Linked DNA regions of Homo sapiens: region 1 is linked to region 2. The links are contacts of gene promoters, found by promoter capture Hi-C in blood cells and fetal thymus (Javierre and others, 2016). All regions are on one chromosome and are shown on one strand. Each heading gives the region's core, a stretch centred on a gene start or on the middle of the fragment in contact. The rest is flanking DNA. Distances are from core to core; before and after follow the strand shown.

What was found. The method cuts DNA at HindIII sites, captures the fragments that hold promoters and counts their contacts. A CHiCAGO score of 5 or more calls a contact.
Region 1: a contact is called between the fragment with the promoter of OR1C1 here and the fragment with the promoter of OR11L1 in region 2, in 1 of 17 cell types (megakaryocytes). The highest score is 5.2, in megakaryocytes.

Annotation. Positions count from the first base shown.
Region 1 is chr1:247,757,574-247,761,814 of GRCh38, reverse strand. OR1C1 (olfactory receptor family 1 subfamily C member 1) reads left to right here and starts at 1,259. Exons shown (of 2, transcript NM_012353.3): 1 at 1,259-1,403; 2 at 3,396-4,241. The coding sequence starts at 3,409. The HindIII fragment of the contact is 5,228 bases long and covers 630-4,241 here.
Region 2 is chr1:247,839,406-247,843,457 of GRCh38, reverse strand. It overlaps OR11L1 (olfactory receptor family 11 subfamily L member 1), which reads left to right and starts at 1,562. Exons shown (of 1, transcript NM_001001959.1): 1 at 1,562-2,530. The coding sequence starts at 1,562. The coding sequence ends at 2,530. The HindIII fragment of the contact is 3,435 bases long and covers 1,067-4,052 here.

The sequences.
Region 1 (4,241 bases), core at 10-2,509, 81 kb after region 2:
ATGTAAATAAATCTCCTTTCAATTGATAATATAGAGGTCTTCCCCATATTAGAAAAAAATGTATAAATGTGTTTGTAAATATATATGTACACTTATACAGACATACACAAATTGTTTATGTATATAATATACAACGTATACCTTTCACTATATATATGTGTGTGTGTCTGTATACATATATATACACACACATGTATAGTATACATATATATATACACACGTATAGTATACATTAAGGTTATTTGAATGTTTGTCATTGTAGTCTGTTCTTATATTTACCTAAATACATTAAACCAAAAACTATGTGTTTAATAAAATATTGATTTCAATAAAGAAGAATAAATGCATCTTTGGATTCAGATAAATGGGCCTGTGTTTCAAATGTTTTGAATACTGGTTGGTTTAGCTGTAGTCTTCAGACTAAGTTATATACTGTGGAGTAACGGTGTAGCTCATGGTATGAGTTAAAACTATTTATCTATGTATATATCTGCAACCACCCGCACACATAATCTTTATCTAATGTACAGTGAAAAATCTCATTTCCAAACACACTCTCTTTTGGTTTTCATTTTTATTGGCACATATTTGATTATCCCAGCCATTAATTCATTAGATGATCAGAAGCTTCAGGATAACCTCTGGGTCTATGCACAATTCAAGGTTTTTATATAAATATTATAGTTTTTATAGCAACTAAATGAGATAAGTAGTATTTGTATTTTTATAGATGAAAAACTAAAACATACAAAATATAATACCTTGTGCAAGGTCAAGCAACTATTAATTAATTTACAAATGAAGATTTGAACCAAAATGTGTCTTACTCCAAAAGTGGTTGTTTATATCACTGTATCTCTCTTTAGCACTAGGGAGACAGGATAAGCTGCAAGTTTTATGGAGATGGAATAGATAGGTTTGTAAAATTGTGGCTTCAGTTTCCCATCTTTTTGTATCATTCATTCACCCAAGCACCCTGTAAAGAAAACAAGAATGTATCTTGGAACCTTCATGAGCTTTCATGCTTTCTTCCCGCATACAATATTTCCCCCTGTGTTTGCCTTCTCTTCAAAATAAGAGAAAAACCAATTTATAAACTAAAGTCATTAGAAGCTAAATTTAGAACTTCATGAAGCCTCTTGGGTGCTGATCTCAAGGGACAAAACTGTGCCATGTTAAAGGCCTGCCCCCCTTTGTATTATCAAAATAAATGAATCTAACCAAATACTCACCCCGTGAGATACTGTTATTCTCTGTCGAAAGAAACACACTTGTCTATATCTCATTCTTCTCTTTTTCACTCTTGACTAGAAATCTGAATCAATGCATAGGTCCATCTATGCTTTTGTGATTGGATATTCAGGAAAGAGAAAAGTCATAGGTGGCAAAGGTCTCAGAAAAGGGTATGTATTCATACATTTTTTTCTTTGTTTTAGTGAAGACATACCTAATGTATAATCCTTTGAGTTGTAATGCATGGAAGTTTTTTGACGAAGCTGTTAAGCATTTCAATGGTGGACTAACTTTTTCCAAATCCTAGTTGAGAAAATTTTGAAATTAAGATGATGTGCTGCAAATGAGAATATAGAATTAAAAGATATCTTGCAAAACTCATATATTCATTATATAATCAAATGATTTCTCCAGAATTTTTCATTCATTTGTTGTTTCCATAAGCACTCTTTTGCACCAACTCTGTGCAAACTACGTGCATATATGTGTTATATCCTAAGGATTCAATATAATAAATCGCAATTCTTTCCTTAAAATTTCACTAACTACAATGAAGTAGACCAAGAAAAAGGGGAATTGTTATGCTTGTCATGAAAGGAATATTGTATAGTGAGTATGAGATTAATAAAAATGATGTAACTGATAGTGCCTACAGGGGAAGGAGACTGTCTTTGAAAGAGTGCTTCTCCCTCAAAGGCATGCAAATACATGCATAGTTTCTTTTCCGTACAGATTTTATCCTGACATGCTTCAAGTTGGGTAAAAGGGGGTGCATGGAACTTAATTAAAGTTGACAGGAATCAGAGGAAGATGAATGTAATAATTAGTGTTAGTGAGGTTTCTGATTAAGTTGGAATTCAAAACATTGTAATAGAAACAAATACACTGCATTGTGTTCTCTAGGGTTAATCAGCTGTCTTAGCATAAAACCAGAACATGTATATTATCTAGTGCTACATTATGTTATTTTCATTAGGATCCTTGTCATACAAATCAATAAAATAGAAGTCCTAGATAACTCTTGGAATATTGTGAGAAAATAATGATACTTGGACTAAAAATTCCAAATCTCTTCCCACTTCTACAACATGTCCTTTACTTGATAGCCATATGGCTTAAATAACATAACTGAAATAATATAGGTTTGAAAAGACTAGAAAGGCCTCAGATGTCAAGGAGAACGTTTGGGAAGGTATCACAAATTTTGCTTCAGTCAGAAAAAAACTTTGGTCCTAAATTGTGCACAGCACCTGGATCATAGAAATTGCTCAATAAATGTTTGCTGAAGGAAAGTACGGATTACATGAATGATGTATGTTTGCTTGCTTATTGTTATACAACACTTTGTATAATTTGATAATTTTTATAATTAAAAAGAAGGTATAAATTGGATTGATACAGAAGTGAGAAGTTGGAGAGTACAGTGAGGGACGTCAAGAAGTAAGACACTCTATGAAAAATGTTGATAGGTATGGGAGAATACTGGCACCTTCTAGAGAAGGTAGTATGACCAAGATGCTACAAGGAAGGGTCCTGAAAGCACAGGCCACAAACACTGGGCTCTCAATGACTTACTACACAAGTCAGAGGCTCCACCAAATGATGAGCAGAGACCAAAACAGCAATGGTCAACCCAAGGAACAGAGGTGAGCTTGCAGTTATCAGTGACCAAATACGTTAAAAGAAAAGAAAGCTAACATGAGGATATCTTCCATCATAAGTATAAGCATCAGATTGGGAGGAAAATTATTTATTAGAGGTAAATATTTCTACTGGGTAAGCATAAATAGCTTGACTACTAAAAAAATAACAAATAACCTTATATATAAAGTCGATATGAATTTTGTGGTTACTGTAGGCAAGGCAAAATAACCCAATTAAAATGGTTATTATTCACATAATTTGCATTTTCTTTTGGGGGAAGAAGTCAGTCTTGAAAGAAGTTGATACTGACATGTCCAGCATGTCTATGTGACTATGAAGACAGAATATCATGAACACAAGATGTCATTGGAAAGCATTCAAGCAAGCAAGTTTGGATGCTACTTACCTGCGCACGCATGCACACACACACACACACACACACACACACACTGTCTCTCTCTCATGAATAAGAGACTTAACACTGCTGGCTTTTACAATTTAATAACTTATTTTTCTAGATTTGTTGGGAATATGGAAAAAAGAAATCTAACAGTTGTCAGGGAATTCGTCCTTCTGGGACTTCCTAGCTCAGCAGAGCAGCAGCACCTCCTGTCTGTGCTCTTTCTCTGTATGTATTTAGCCACCACCTTGGGGAACATGCTCATCATTGCGACGATTGGCTTTGACTCTCACCTCCATTCCCCTATGTACTTCTTCCTTAGTAACTTGGCCTTTGTTGACATCTGCTTTACGTCGACTACAGTCCCCCAAATGGTAGTGAATATCTTGACTGGCACCAAGACTATCTCTTTTGCAGGCTGCCTCACCCAGCTCTTCTTCTTCGTTTCTTTTGTGAATATGGACAGCCTCCTTCTGTGTGTGATGGCGTATGATAGATATGTGGCGATTTGCCACCCCTTACATTACACCGCCAGAATGAACCTGTGCCTTTGTGTCCAGCTAGTGGCTGGACTGTGGCTTGTTACTTACCTCCACGCCCTCCTGCATACTGTCCTAATAGCACAGCTGTCCTTCTGTGCCTCCAATATCATCCATCATTTCTTCTGTGATCTCAATCCTCTCCTGCAGCTCTCTTGCTCTGACGTCTCCTTCAATGTAATGATCATTTTTGCAGTAGGAGGTCTATTGGCTCTCACGCCCCTTGTCTGTATCCTCGTATCTTATGGACTTATCTTCTCCACTGTTCTGAAGATCACCTCTACTCAGGGCAAGCAGAGAGCTGTTTCCACCTGCAGCTGCCACCTGTCAGTGGTGGTGTTGTTTTACGGCACAGCCATCGCCGTCTATTTCAGCCCTTCATCCCCCCATATGCCTGAGAGCGACACTCTGTCAACCATCATGTA
Region 2 (4,052 bases), core at 313-2,812:
TCTGTCATGATGCTATACTAGAGTCAGGTTAGAATTTGGTAGCTTATTTCTACAGAGTCTGTTTCGTCAGCCTTAAAATCTCTTTTTTGATGTTATTGCTGCTCAGTTATGCCTGAATTCTGAAGAAAGGAGAGTGTAATGAGGTTTGTCCAACCCCCTCTTCCCATCATGATCTGAACCAGAATTTTTAGGTTTCTTTGAAATCCCCTTGGCTGAAAGGAGGAGTCCGCTCAGTCAGTTGTGGGGTTTAGAATTTTATTTTTGGTTTATAAGGGAAATACAGAATGATTGCTCTCCAGCAGTAAGGGCACACTGAGTTTGTTGGTTGTACATTTTAAAGAGGTTCTATTCTTGCTTGTCTCACTCCCTCAACTTCACAGAAGCTCCTGTATGGCAGGTGGATGTTTACTTTATCCAGAACTATAGACAATGAATTAAATGAAAGAATAAAAGGTGTACACGAGGGTGTAATTATAGTGGCTGAGCATGAGTATGGTATCGGATGAGGCAAGAAAGGACACCAGTGGAGTGAGGCAGATTAGTTCAGCACAGGCCTTCACACACACACACACACACACAAACACACACACACAAACACACACACACAGCAGGGACTAATAAATATTGTTTGAGGGTGGAATATATACACTTTCCCAAGATGGCATAGGAGATGTGCTGTGTCTGGCTTCTTTTTCAGACAAAGCCCACAGATGAGAAGGGAAAGGCATTTGCTTCCACATGTGCATGATTTTTTTTTTTTTTTTGAGACGGAGTCTCGCCCTGTCACCCAGGCTGGAATGCAGTGGTGCGATCTTGGCTCACTGCAATCTCCGCCTCCCGGATTCAAGCGATTCTCCAGCCCCAGCCTCCCACGTAGCTGGGATTACAGGCAGGCACCACTACACCCAGCTAATTTTTGTATTTTTAGTAGAGACGGGGTTTCACTGTGTTGCTCAGGCTGGTCTCGAACTCTTGACCTCGTGATACGCCCGCCTCGGCCTTCCAAAGTGCTGGTATTACAGGCGTGAGCCACTGCGCCCGGCCGTGCAGGATTTTTTTTAAAGCTTTGTTGTTATTGTTAGTTTTCTGAGTTTTTGTCCAGCTTTATTGAGGTGTAGTTGATAATTATTGTATACTATATATTTACAGTGTACAACTTTGTTCTCGTAGATGTATTCATTGTGAAATAATCATCACAATCAATCCAATTAACATATTCATCACCTCAATTTTTCTTTTTTGTATGGTGAGAACACTGAAGATCTACTAATAAGAGTCCTTTTTTGCCTGTCTTTGGAAGGAGACTTCAAGATTTCAGAGAACCCAGATGAATGAAACTTGCTGAGTCTCCTTACAAGATCTAATATTCACATTCAGCTTAAGATTTCAAAATGTATTCTTACGAAAGAGATATGGAATTATGCATTTATCCTTCTAAAAAGCTGTGCATACAGATCTAAACTATTTAAAAATTAATCTCTGAAGTTCCAAGCATCACCAGTGATAAATTTGCGCCTTGCATCCTGTGCTTTTCCAGAATGTTTTTCATCCCCCACAGGCAATGGAGCCCCAAAATACCTCCACTGTGACTAACTTTCAGCTGTTAGGATTCCAGAACCTTCTTGAATGGCAGGCCCTGCTCTTTGTCATTTTCCTGCTCATCTACTGCCTGACCATTATAGGGAATGTTGTCATCATCACCGTGGTGAGCCAGGGCCTGCGACTGCACTCCCCTATGTACATGTTCCTCCAGCATCTCTCCTTTCTGGAGGTCTGGTACACGTCCACCACTGTGCCCCTTCTCCTAGCCAACCTGCTGTCCTGGGGCCAAGCCATCTCCTTCTCTGCCTGCATGGCACAGCTCTACTTCTTCGTATTCCTCGGCGCCACCGAGTGCTTTCTCCTGGCCTTCATGGCCTATGACCGTTACCTGGCCATCTGCAGCCCACTCCGCTACCCCTTCCTCATGCATCGTGGGCTCTGTGCCAGGTTGGTGGTGGTCTCCTGGTGCACAGGGGTCAGCACAGGCTTTCTGCCTTCCCTGATGATTTCCAGGTTGGACTTCTGTGGGCGCAATCAGATTAACCATTTCTTCTGCGACCTCCCGCCACTCATGCAGCTCTCCTGTTCCAGAGTTTATATCACCGAGGTGACCATCTTCATCCTGTCAATTGCCGTGCTGTGCATTTGTTTTTTTCTGACACTGGGGCCCTATGTTTTCATTGTGTCCTCCATATTGAGAATCCCTTCCACCTCTGGCCGGAGAAAGACCTTTTCCACATGTGGCTCCCACCTGGCTGTTGTCACTCTCTACTACGGGACCATGATCTCCATGTATGTGTGTCCCAGTCCCCACCTGTTGCCTGAAATCAACAAGATCATTTCTGTCTTCTACACTGTGGTCACACCACTGCTGAACCCAGTTATCTACAGCTTGAGGAACAAAGACTTCAAAGAAGCTGTTAGAAAGGTCATGAGAAGGAAATGTGGTATTCTATGGAGTACAAGTAAAAGGAAGTTCCTTTATTAGGTAAAGAAAATTGCACAGAACATGCAGTGGATTAAATTCAGGGTTAAGTGAATGGTAGATTCAGACCTTTAAACCTGAAGATCATTGTCAGAACTGCATTGAATTCTGTAGGCCACAAAACAACAGCTTTTTGAGGGTTCCTCACTAGCAACTGGTCAGAAGATAAACTGCCTCCATCAAACCATTTTGAGGTCAGTTTTGTCCTAGACACTTTCTAACATCTTGTTAGGAAAATCTGATTGAATTCCAGTGGATGGTGATTACACACACATTACTTTCACATTCTACAATAAGATTTCCCTTTGTTTACATAACCTTATGTACAGAAAGCTCTGCATCTTTTAAGTACTCTTAGTAGACTGGCCTTGTGGACCTAAAACCTGGTGGGTGCCATTGGTGCTTATTAAATAGCAGTAGAAAGAATAAATAAAAAAAAGAAGACATTTAAAATGTTTGTTGACCTACATTATCTCCTAAAGATAAGAAAGAAGTAAGGCCTTTGAAGTGCCAAATATTCATCTACAAGACCTTAGATGTTTTAGTGTTTTTTGTTTAATGAAATTGTGGGAAGGAAGGGAGGGAGGGAGGGAGGGAGGAAAGGAGGGAAGGGAGGGAGGGAGGAAGGAGAAGATCCTCAGTATTCTGTGCTACTGTGAGTCCTGAGAGTCAGAGGATGTCACTAAAATGTTTAAATCACTTTTTATTTTCTTGAGACAGAGTCTCACTCTGTCGCCCAGGCTGGAGTGCAATGGCACGATTTTGGCTCACTGCAACCTCCACCTCCCAGGTTCAAGCGATTCTCCTGCTTCAGCCTCCTGAGTAGCTGGGAATACAGGCATGCACCACCAGGCCCAGCTAATTTTTGTATTTTTTTTTTTTTTAGTAGAGATAGAGTTTCACCCTGTTGGTCAGGCAGGTCTTGAACTCCTGACCTCAAGCTCCACCCGCCTCGGCCTCTCAAAGTGCTGGGATTACAGGGGTGAGCCACCGCGCCCAGGCTCTTAAATCACTTTTATAGTTTATTTTATTCAGCCAGTTTAGAAGATCTCTACAAATCCTGCCCATTGTTTGATTCATTAATTCTACAAATATTTTTAATCTCATGAAGCATGCCACGTCCTGTGCCACAGTCTGAATTTCCCGGAAAGACAATGACATAGAAAGGACCAAGCAAGCCAGGCACAGTGGCTCACGCCTGTAATTCCAGCACTTTGGGAGGCCAAGGTGGGCGGTCACCTGAGGTCGGGAGTTCGAGACCAGCCTGGCCAACATGGAAAAACCCCGTCTCTACTAAAAATACAAAATTAGCCGGGCAAGGGGCATGCCTGTTATCCCAGCTACTAGGGAGGCTGAGGCAGCAGAATCACTTGAACCCAGGAGGCAGAGGTTGCTGTGAGCTGAGATCATGCCATTGCACTCCAGCCTGGGCAACAAGAATGAAACTCCATCTCAAAAAAAAAAAAAAAAAGAAAAAAGAAAGAAAGGGCCAAGCAAGACTTTACCTTAATAGACCTTCCAATGC